2 separate regions of the Homo sapiens genome follow, and region 2 is linked to region 1. The links are contacts of gene promoters, found by promoter capture Hi-C in blood cells and fetal thymus (Javierre and others, 2016). All regions are on one chromosome and are shown on one strand. The core of a region is centred on a gene start or on the middle of the fragment in contact, and the rest is flanking DNA. Distances in the headings are between cores, read along the strand shown. Region 1 holds the start of OBSCN-AS1 (OBSCN antisense RNA 1). Region 2 overlaps RNF187 (ring finger protein 187).

Region 1 (5,784 bases), core at 934-3,433:
CCACCTACCCCGGACCTCCATCCGGATGCTGCTCTCAATGCCGTTGGCCACGAACTTCAGCTGCGCCCCGTGCAGGCTGGCGGGCACCTCCCGGATGGTGAGCGTGTGCCGGGTGCGATCACAGTGGATCTCATACACACTGCTGGCCTTCAGGGCCTGCCCATCCAGGAACCACTCACCCGCTGAGGCCACCGTGAGGTCCACGGAGAAAGTGACCTCGCCACCCTCTACCGCCTGCACCGCCTTCAGCGGTGTCCTCACGGCCAGCTTGGGGGCTGTGGGGCGGGCAGCGTCAGAAAGGGGCCGAGGAGGAGTGGGGAGTGCTGAGGAGGTCTCTGCCTTCCCCTTCTCTTCCTACAGAGCCTAGACCTAAATGTTCCTCCTCCAGGAAGCCCAGCCAACACACAGAGCGACCATAGCATGAGTCAGGCTCATGAAGGAACAAGGACAAGGTACAGCTGCCCTGAGACCCCTCCAGCATCCTACAAGCCCCACCAGAGTGGGGCAGCCCTGGAGCCCCGTCCCCTGGGTCTGCTGGAGACAGGCAGGCTCCCAGGGGCCCTGTAGTGGGGTCACCTATCCTTCCCACCACGGACACTGCACCAGGGCAAGGCCTTGGCAGCCCCCCTCCCCACAGAAGGTCCCCATGAGGCCACTCTGGCCTCCCCTGAAGCTGGACCTGGGGGATTCCGGGGCAGGTGAGCAGCCCCGTAGGTTGTAACAGGGAGGTCCCACTTACCCAGGTGGACAGTCCCCGGGAACTCGAGGTAGGGACTCTGACCAAAGCTGTTGAGAGCGGACACTCGGAACTGGAAGTTCCCCTCCTCCGCCACATCAGCCACGGTCAGCTCAGGTGTAGCCACCCATTCAGCCTCGTGGCACCTGATCCAGGTGTAGGTGCCAAGCTTCTTCTTCTCTACCAGGTAGCCGTCGATAGTGACAGGGCGTTCCCCATGGGGTGGTGGGGACCAGCTGAGAATCACGGAACTCTCCATCCTGGCCTTTACCACAGGATCCACAGGGGGTTGCAGGGGAGGCTTCCTGGGGGCTGTGTAGAGGGTGGGCAGAGGTCAACTACTGGGAGCCTCTTCCTGAGCCCTGGGTCTGGAATCACCTGGAGGGGTGTCACAGGATCCCCAGCTCTCTTGGGGCTGCTCTGGGGACCTGGACCACTGGCCACAACCTCCAGCCCCAGACCTGCAGCCACTTCTCTGGTTGCAGCTGAAAGACTGCGCGGGGGCTCAGGGAGCCTAACGTTGGAGGGCCAGGGCTATGGTCTTGCCCGGCGGCCCTCGGTACAGCAGGCTGAAGCCCAGAGAGCTGAGGTAATGGAGGGCAGGGGACTGGGACCAGGGAGACAGCAGGGAAGCGATGCCATCCTGGGAGCACCCTCAGGCCCTCACCCGACACGCAGAACTGGGTGGACGTCTGGCAGTCGCCAGCCATAAAGGCCACCTGGCCCACATCCTCCAGGCAGCACTGGGAGATGGTTAGTGTGTGGCGCGTGCCCTCCGCGGAGATGGCCACGCGGCCCCCCGCCACCACTTCCTCCTGGTTCCGCAGCCAGTGGACGGGGCCCACCGGGACCGCCAGCTCCACGCAAAACATAGCCGTGTCGCCCACGCGCACCGCCGTCTTCCGAGGGAGCTTTCGGAGGAGGTTTCCTGGGGTGGAGGGAGCCGGGCCAGTCAGACCAGCCCCTGCACGCCCCGCTCCAGACTCGCTCCTCCGCTTGCCCCCTGTCTCCCGGTTCCCAACTGCCTCCGATTCACTCCCCCGCGCAACCCCTTACCTGTCCCGCCGGCCCAAGTCCCAGCTCGGTCCCACAAGACCCCTGCCCACTCCGTCTCCCCTTCCCCCTAATCACCACCCCGTGCCCGGCCCGAGCTTGCTCCTCCGCCCCCACCTTACCTGCCCTTCCCGCCCCAGTCCCGCCCCTGCCTGCCCCAGTCCCAACTCGTACCTCGCAAGCCCAGTCCGTCTGCACCCTGCCCGCCCCCGTGCCCGCCCAGCCCGTGCGGCCTGGCTCCCCCCTCCCCCGCCCCCGGCTCCCTTCTCGGTGCCTCCTTGCCCCCGCTACCTCCCCGAAGCCGCCCTGTGCCCCGCCCCGTGCCCCGCCCCGCCTGCCTTGGACTGCGAGCTCCGCCACCGTGCGGCTGCCCTCTGGCGTCTCGCAGATGTACACCGCGTCGTCGTCGGCCGAGACATTGCGCACGGTCAGGCGGCGCTCGGTGCCCTCCTCCTCGATGCCGTACTTGGCGCTCGCCCACAACCGCGTCTCCTCCTTGAACCACGCGGCCTCAGTGGACGGCTGGGGCACCTCACATAGGAACGTGGCCGACTCCTTCTCCCGCACCTCCAGATCTTGCAGCCGCTTTTTGAAGGGAACCGCGGGCTCTGCCAGGAGAGAAGACTGGTGAGAGGGGCGGGGCCGGAGGGTGCAGGACGACGGCGGGGTGGGAAGGGGGAAATTGGGGGATTGTGGGCGGGAAAGGAGACTGGAGGATGCAGAGGTGAGGGTGTGGGAAGGAATAGGGGACAGGAGCAGAGGGGCTGGGAGGCTGGAAAGGAGAGGGTGCAGGGTAGAGGAGTGGGCTGGGGAGAGGAGCGAGCAGGAGGCAGAGGGGCTAAGGGTTGGGAAGGGCGCAGGGGAGGAGACAGGAAGTTGGGGGGCGGGGGAGTAGAAGAGCAGAAGGCAGAGTGGTGGAGGTTGGGTTGGGAGCAGCGGGAGGGAGAGGGCGGGGCTGAGGAGGTGGGATCCCCTGCGGCCCCGCCCCTCTCACACCTCTCGCCCCTGTCTGTGGGCCAGCGGTGGCGGGTTGGGGGCGCGGCATGCAAAGGGGGCGGGGCGGGCAGGGGACTGGGTGGGGAAAGCGGGTTGCGGGTGTTTAGAATAGGTCGTGGGGCGTCGCCCGCATTTTGCGCACCAGGAACGGACACCTGCAACCCTGGATTCCACGACCGGACAGACGCGGGTGGGAAACGGCAGACCGCAAGGGCGAAAGGACCCAGGTGCACGGGTTGCGGAGGAGCCTGGGCCCGCGCGCCCCGCACCCAGGAGCTCACCGCGCACTACGACCAGCACAGAGCTGTAGGTCTGGCCCACGAGGTTGGACGCCGTGCAGGTGTAGAGGCCGCGGTCCGACTGCTTGCAGAAGAGGATCTTGAGCACGAAGTTCTCCTGCGCGTCCTCGTACACCACGTGGCGCCGGCCCTCGGTCACCAGCTGGCCGTCCTTCTTCCACACCGTCTCGGGCTTGGGCTCGCCGGTCACGTAGCAGCTGAGGCGCGCGTGCTTGCCTTCAGTCACCGTGCAGGTGCGCGTGCCGGTGCTGGGCGGTGAGGCGGGGGCGCCCTCGGCGCGCATAGCCTCGCGCCGCCGCTGCAGGTGCGCCAGGAGCGCGGCCGTGGAGGTCCCGGGCCGGCTGGCCGTGTCCGCGGCGTCCGAGTCCACCACTAGCGCCGCGGCGGCGCTGGCAGCGCCCAGCGGGTTCTCGGCGCGGACCTCGTAAGTGCCGCCGTCGCGCGGCCGCGCCGCCCGAATGCGCAGCGCACTTGCCTCGCCGAGCTCCTCCACGCGCACGCGGGGGCCGTCGGGCTCACCCAGGCGCCGCCCGTCCTTGGACCAGCTCACTGCCGGCCTCGGGGAGCCACCCACGCGGCAGCGGAAGGTGGCCTCTGAGCCCTCGCGCACGCGGATGGACGTGGGCCGCAGCAGGAAGTGCGGCGCCTGCTCGGCGCACGCGGCCTCCGCGTCCACCTGCAGGCCCACAGCAGCGAAGGCCTCGCCTATGGCATTGCGCGCGCGGCACACGTATTGCCCACTGTCGCCCAGCGCCAGGTCCAGGATAGTGAGGCGGTAGAGGTCGCCGTCCTGGGCCAGACGGAAGCGCGCGCCGGCCGCCACCGGCTGCTGGTCCTTCTCCCAGCTCACCTGTGGCGTGGGATTACCCACGATCTGGCAGCTGAGGGTGGCGTCCTTGCCCACCGACACCACGAAGGCCTTGGGCCGGGTGAGAAAGCGGGGCGCCCCGCTGAACTGTGGCTGATCCATGAGGGTGGCGGCGGGGACCTGCAAGTAGGTGGGGATGGCCTTAGTGGGGATTGGAATGAGGCCCGGGTGCACCCCACCGTGCCGCCTGAGGAACCCAGTTCAACACCTCCACACATCCTATTTCCCCCCCACTCCCCGCGCCCTGAGGAAGCATCACCGGTTGGCACCGTGACCCAGAAGTGCAGACTTGCCCCTTTCTGGGCATTTGGGGTTTGGTAACCTCACCTGCAAACGGCTCTTCTAGCCGCTGAGAACATCTCCTTCCCTCTCCCTACCTACAGGGACCCACTGCCTCAGCTGCAGTTACTGGAGCACATGTCCCAAACCTACACCCCCTAGCAACCAGGCAGGGCCCCCTCCCTCGCAGTGCCCGCTATTTTTGGTTCCTCCCAGCCTACAAGCTTTGCTGCACCTTCCTGAGGCAGGCAGACCTGCCTGGTGCACTGTAGGCCACTCCCTACCTGCGGGGTGGTATCCTTTCTCCTACCGCACACACTGCTGCCTCTCGGGCCTAAAACTTCAGCTGGCCTGTGTGTCCCCCACATCAAGAAGGGGAGGCTCGCTGAGCCCCGGCAGGCCTGGGTGCAGGAGGCCCACCATGGGCACCGGTCTCATGCCCGTCTCCTCTGCCTATCGCACAAGGAGGTCACCGGTTCTCCACCCTGGCAGGCTCCCCTTTGAGCCTCTTCTAGGTGAGATGCACCCTCCGCCCTGGGCAAAGCCCTTACTCCCTCCTCTTCCCCCCGACCCCTACGCAGCTCTCCTTCAGCAGCCCCTCCAGGTTGCACTGAGGGGCCAGTCCGGCCTGAAGCTGCCCTTGTTGCAGAGGGGCCTCACCTCTTCTGCAGGGTCACACACCTCCCTCCTCCCCAGGGGCATGCTCTTTATCCATGAGCGGGAAGGACTGGAAACCACTTAGCTGCTTGCTCCCAGGCCCCCCCACTGAGCCCCAGGGTGGGATTGGGATGCAAGGGCAGGGCACAGTCAGGGATCTGGCTTGGGAGCATAGCTGGGGGACCCCAGAGTCTGGAGCTGGCAAGGCCAGTAACATCCCCCTGGAAGGGCTAGAGACCTCCAGGCTGAGACCAGCTGGGCTGGGTCAGCCAGGCCCAACTTGGTCACCCCACAGTTCTCAGCCACACTGGCCAGCTGGACATGCTGCAGGGCTGAGGGTGGACACCAGTGCCAAAGGCCCCAGGTGATGCTGTCCTTTGACCACCCCAGGCGGAGCCCAGCAGGCCAGCCGCCCCAGTACAGATCCCCCCATATAGATGGTGTGGGTTGACACTACCGTGCCTATGCAGCTCTTCTGTAGGAACAGCGGGTGTGAGTGGGCCCCACTGGCACTGGGCTGGCCCGGGGCGCCTTAACTCCCTCCAGCCCTGGCAGGCACAACCACCCCATGGTGGAGAGGCCCCCGCCAGGGCACCTCGCCTGTACTCTCTCTCAGGCCAGAGCCACCAGCTTCTGGGCCTGGGCTGCCCACTGTGGGCTGAGCCAGGGCAACGTTCCCAGGCCCTCCTCCTGGTCCTGTGATTCAGGTAGTTAATCCCCCTTAATCCCCTTGGGCAGTCTGAGGCTGGAGCAGGGCTGGACTGCGCAGCGGGCACCAGTCTGCTGACTCACTGTGCAGGCAGCACCTATGCTGCAGCCCAGCCTCCCCACCCACAGCAGGGCTCTGGGGCTGGGGAGGACCTGGGCAGGGGCCTGCCCACAGCAGGGACCGGGGT
Region 2 (5,784 bases), core at 1,572-4,071, 280 kb before region 1:
TTACTAAATAGTTTAAGCATCTCCTTATATTTTGCTGCTGTCAACCTCATGAAATAATAGCTACTCAGTTAGGTAATGTAGAAGGTAAAATGGCCCCAAGCATTTTTATCTCCTCTCTTTGGCCACAGGATCCTGAAACTGAAAACGACCTTTGGGTCCCAACTATCCACGGCTTTCCCACAAAGCTCTGAAAATAAGAGTTGAGAAAAAAGTATTGAGCTACTGGACAAATACATCAGTGTCTTGAGAATGTGTCCCCTACCTTCCAGCAAACAAACTGTTGCTTTTCTATGCAGTGCCTGGCCTCAGTTTCCTTCCACATGTCACCCACAGCCAGCCTCGGAGATCCTCCTGCCTAGGGCTGCCCTTGACCAGAGAGATCTGGTTGCAGCAAAGCCACAGGGACACCAGTGGCTCCTCAGAGCTTGCGTGGTCAAGGGCTGAGGAAGGGCGTCTGTTTCAAGCCATTTCTATAAAACACCCTGTGGGAGCAGACCTGAAGGAGAGGGGCAACCGCCACACAGGTATGGGGGAGAAATGTTCCCTGGAGATCAGAGGCCGAGGCAGGGCCCACCTGGCTTGCTGAAGAACAGAGAGGCCATCATGCTGGGTCTGCAGGGAGCAGGGGGCACAGTGGTGACGAGAGAGGAAGAGCTCGGGGTGGATTATGTAGCACTTCCCAGGCCACTGCGAAGCTTTCCCGGAATGAATCTGAGTTGCTGCAGGGCCTTGAGTACAGCAGGGGCAGGCTCTTGCTTAGTTTTTATTTTCATTGTTTTAATAAATTTCATTGTGTATATTTAAGGTATGCAACGTGATGTTACAAAGTACAAACAGATAGCAAAATGGTCACTACAGGGGAGCAATTAACATTCCCATCACCTCCCAGAGTCAACCACTTTTAGGATTTTGTGGCAAGAGCAGCTGAAGTCTAGTCATTTAGCAGGAACTCCCAAAACAGTGCAATTTTATTACCTACATTCCTCCTGTTGTACATCGGATCACCAGACTGGTTCATCCTACATATTTTAAAGTAGAAACCCATCTACCTGCTGGGTTGAGAATGCATTGTTGGAGCAGCGGGAGGAGATGAGGTCCCCAGGTCTCCTGGGCAGAAGAGGACAGTGCCAGTGGGCCACGGTGGGGGACTGGCGGGGAGCAGGTAAGATGAGGTCAAGGTCTTTGGCTACAGGAAGAGCCTGCAGGATTCCTTTGCAGACCTATTGTGGACTGTTAGAGAAAACAACTCAGAGACAGCTCTGAGATGTCTGAGGACTGCAGGGATTGGGCCCCTGGGCAAGTCTGGGATGGAGGCAGTGGTTGGACCTGGAAGAGGGTTTGGGAGAGAGACCCACGTCAGAGAGGCAAGTGTGAGGTCACCATGGGGGGCTGGATAGGACAGAGAGGCCACACGAGGATGCCAAGGGTTCTTCCACATGAAGAGGGTGGAGTGGAGAGGACACAAGGGAGACGGAGGAGCATCAGCAAGGCCAGAGAAAGCCCTTGTGGAGGGAATGTCCCTACACAAAAATCCATTCAAAACAGACAAGGGCTTAATTGTAAGGCCTGAAACTGTAAAGCCAGTAGAAGAAAACACAGGTGAAAAACTCCATGACACTGGCCTAGGTTTCAGGGTTGTATCACTTCTTGCATATGACCCTAAAAGCACAAGCAACAAAAGAAAAATAAACATACATGATTGCATAGAGCTAAAAAGCTTCTGCACAGCAAAGGAAATCATAAACAGAGTGAAGACAACTCACAAATTGGGATAGAGTATTTGCAAACCATACATTAAGTAGGGGGTTAATATCCAAAATATACATGGAACTCAAACTCAATAGCAGGAAAGCAAATAAACGACTAAAAAATGAGCAAAGAACCTGAAGAGACACTTCTCAAAAGAAGACATACCAATGGCCAACAGGTATATAAAAAAATGCTCAACATCATTAATCATCAGGGAAACGTAAACCAAATCACAATGAGATTATCTCACACTTCTTAGAATGACTAATTTCAAAGAAAATAAATGTTGGTGAGTATGTAAATTATTATAGCCATTATGGAGAAGCATATGGAGGTTATTCAAAAACTTAAAAAGAGTACCGTGACCCAGCAATCCTACTGCTAAGTATTTTCCCAAAGGAAACGACATGAATATATGGAAGAGATACCCACACTCCTGTGTTTCTTAAGAGCACTTTTACAACAGTCAAGATACGGAATCAACCTACGTGGTCTAGAAGCAAAGTGATAAAGGGATAAAGTGGATAAATGGCTTAAGAAAATGTGGTGTATACACATCATGGAATACTATTTGGCCATAAAAAAGGAAACCCTGCCATTTGCAACATGGGTGAATTTACAGGACATTTATATTAAGTGAAATAAGCCAGGAACAGGACAAATATCACATGATCTCACTTATATGTGGAATCAAAATGTTGATTTATAGAATTAGAGAGTAGAACGGTGGTTAGCAGGGGCTGAGACAAGAGGATTTGGGGAAATTCTAGTCAGAGGGTACAGAGTCCCTGCTATACAAGAATAAACTCAAGGTCTATTGCACAGCATGGTGACTTCAGCTGATAACCGTGTACTGTACGCAGTTGGCCCTCTGTATCTGACTGTCCCACATATGTGCAGAGGGAGGGCTGACTGCAGGGTACTTGAGTATCTGCAGATTTTGGTATCCATGAGGGGGTCCTGGAACCAATCCCCCTTAGGCACAGAGGGATGACTGTATTTGAAATTGCTGAGTGTAGATTTCAAATATTCTCACCACCAAAAAAAACATGAGATGGATACATTAATCTGTCACTCCACAATGTACATAGATATCAAAACATCACACTGTGCCCCATAAATATATAATTTTCTTAAATAGAAAGAGGTTGTGATTGACAGGGTGGGATGTTGCTGGTCAGCTAGGTTAGGTGAGGATGGTGAAGCCACTGTCGGACCTGGTGATGTGGAGACACTGATGTTGTGGGAGACTCTGCCATCAGGACCTGTCCGGGCAAGCATCACAGGTGTGCAGGGCAGGGGCAGGGATGCTCAGGGATGACAGCAGACTGCAGCAGGCGGAGACAGTGAGAAAGACAAACTGGAGGTCTCAGGGTCGGGATGTTGTTGGCGTGCTGACAAAGATTCTCTACTTGGCCAAACTCTGGCCAGGCTCTGGAATCTTCTCCTAGGGCCCTCTTTGCCCTTTCTTATGAAATCCAGTTTTAGCAAGAACCCTAATTTGGTTAACCATAATATCTGACCACCCTCAATGGTACCTGACTGGGTTCCTCTCTGACCGTTTGCAGCCAATGTCTGATCGCCCTGCCTGCCTGCAGCAAGGACTCTGTGAGGTGGGTTTAGCCAGAGCCCCCTCAGCCCTGATGTCTCCTCACAGTCATTCCCACCCATGGACCCTATACTGCTCCTCGCTCCTCCAACCCCTGCCCTGCTACGTCGGGGTGGAGCCCCATCTCCCCCCAGGCCCCAAGGAAAGGGTCCCACACCCATCTCAATGGTCCCAATCAAAGTCCTCCTCACCATGCTTTAGCACGTGTCACGAGGAAGTTTCCTTTGACACTGGAGGGTGGCCAGGGCAGGGGGAAGAGGCCAGGTGGACACACGGAGACGAAGCAAACGAGCTGACACAAACCCACTTTATTCAGCATTGAGCCAGCCCACACGCTGGGCAGGTCAAACTCACAGACATCGCACCAAGGGCCGGGGACTCAGAAGGGCTGAAAGGCTTCATCTGGAAATGGGCACCGCTCACAAGCCCGGCTATCCCCAAATCTCAACAACTGTCTGCATCTATGTCCCCGACTTTGCAATCCTGTCCCCAGTGCTGAGTTTCTGTCGACTAATTTATCTACACACAAGGATGCTGCAGGCAACTGAGCTACTGCTACAAGCTTTGCAAAATTCAACTACTAAAGGAAATGGGAGGAGGGAAAGAGCTAGAGATAACAGCAAGATGAGACACGATGGCAGGGCCTGGAGATGCTAAATGGGGTTAGCCACCTGCCAGCCCCCTCACCCAGGGAAACAGAGAAAGAGGCTTCCTTCTGCGGAGGCAGGTGGAGCACAGGGAGGGCTCCTGGGAGGCACAGGAGTGGGGTGGGGGCCAGGAAGGGGGAGGTGGACAGAGCGACTTGGATAAGGCTGGGCCGGGCCCACGCCCACCTCAAGAGGGGGGCCGCCTCCTCAGGAGGCATCAAGGTGCAATCCAGTCTTCCTTTCTCTCCCTGAAGACCTGAGTTCCAGCCTTCACAGAGCGTCATGCGCATTCTTCTTTCTGGATGCTAACCCCAAATCCGACACTCAATGGTGCACCTCAGGTACCTGCCAAGGATCTGTGGGCCCACATGGAAGGTGCAGGGTCTGGGTCCCTGGATGACGAGGTGAGGGGCAGATGGGTGACCAGGGAAGGGCATGACCCAGAGCTGCCGGGACTCATGGAGGATGGGCTGTGGCTAGGACTTCAGGAAGGGACGGGCACAGGTGGGAAGGGTCCTCAGGTCCAGCCTCTACCGGGAGGTGTTTGCAGCCCCCAAAACACGCCTCGGGGTGAAGGATAAATGGACATTGTTGAAACACGCAACTATGTAGATGGACCCAAGGCCAGGCGCCTGCCACGCTTCCCTGGCAGCCACACGCTGACACTTCCCATGGAGATGAGGATCCATCCTCCTGCCTCCAGCTCTGGGACTGCCACGGGTTGGCGCCATCACTGCATGGGAGGGGAGAGGGAAAGACAGAGAGACAAAAAGAGAAAGAGACACACAGAGTCAGAGACAGAGGCAAAAGGAGAGAGCGAAAGAGAGAGCGCACATGAGACAGCGCATGAGGTACTGTCCTGAGCACAACAAACCCAGGGCCTGGCCCAGACTTCCGTCTCCCCAGGGCCAAAGCCTTGTCACCTATGGCTGGCACGGGCAACTGAACCGTTCAGGGCCATCTGGGTTGCTGCAGGGTCTGGGGTTCAGGCCAGGCCCTGGGCAGAGGCAGAAGAAAAGCCCTGAGGTTGGGTTTCTTGGCTGCTTCTGCCTTCAGGACCCCAGGGCGAGGCAGGAGCCTTCCATGCTCGGGCACTCGGGATGCCAAGTGCCCTCCTTTGTGAAGGTCAGGGACACCTCAGACCCTCCTCAACTTAAAACCCCTTCCCATCACCTTCCCTGACCACCCACCCATTCCCGAAATTCAGCCCTGCAAGGCCACGGCAGTGGGAGTCAGGCTGGGCTTTTAAGCCTTGACTTCGGGCAATGGTCCCCCAATGGCTCGCTGCTGCCTGCGTCCACCCTGGCCCGATGGTGGGCAGACCCAGCGGGGCTCCCGCACCTGCAGCAGCATGCTGAGGCCCAGGTTGCGATGCTTCTTCTCCAGCTCCGAGACCGCCTGCAGCAGTGACCTGAACCGCTCAGTGGGGTCAGCCAGCTCGTCCTCAGGGAGCCCCTCCTCCTTCTCAGCCTCCTGCAGGAAATGCTCCTCCTCCTCCACAAAGAAGGCCCGCAGCTTCTTGTAGTCGGTCAGTGCCTTCTTCCTACGGTCCATCACGTGTCCCTGCAAACGGGTGGCAGGAAAAGACCTGTGTCCTCACCCACCCTCCCCAGGGGAAGGGGAACCTGTTTGCTCTTGAAGGAGTTAAGAACATGCCACTCCAAAACATGCTGCTCAGGCACATCGACTATTAGGCCAGGCACAGTGGCTCACGCTTGTAATCCCAGCACTCCAGGAGGCCAAGGCGGGCGGATCATGAGGTCAGGAGTTCAAGACCAG

The links. Contacts are between HindIII fragments. The CHiCAGO score rates a contact against its expected background, and 5 or more counts as called.
Region 2: a fragment that was not itself captured here is called in contact with the fragment with the promoter of OBSCN-AS1 in region 1 in 10 of 17 cell types (naive CD8 T cells, erythroblasts, total B cells and 7 more); the score reaches 9.0 in naive CD8 T cells.

What each region holds. Positions count from the first base shown.
Region 1 is chr1:228,210,054-228,215,837 of GRCh38, reverse strand. OBSCN-AS1 (OBSCN antisense RNA 1) reads left to right here and starts at 2,183. Exons shown (of 2, transcript NR_073155.1): 1 at 2,183-2,416. It overlaps OBSCN (obscurin, cytoskeletal calmodulin and titin-interacting RhoGEF), which reads right to left. Exons shown (of 116, transcript NM_001386125.1): 2 at 3,067-4,072; 3 at 2,128-2,397; 4 at 1,404-1,664; 5 at 740-1,048; 6 at 9-275. The coding sequence starts at 4,054. RefSeq lists a silencer at 2,047-2,096. The HindIII fragment of the contact is 3,550 bases long and covers 908-4,457 here.
Region 2 is chr1:228,492,837-228,498,620 of GRCh38, reverse strand. It overlaps RNF187 (ring finger protein 187), which reads right to left. Exons shown (of 4, transcript NM_001010858.3): 3 at 5,347-5,568; 4 at 2,433-4,738. The coding sequence ends at 4,736. Among named protein-coding and RNA genes, the nearest start is that of RNF187, 8.3 kb to the right of the region's middle. RefSeq lists an enhancer at 4,802-5,747. The HindIII fragment of the contact is 2,203 bases long and covers 1,720-3,922 here.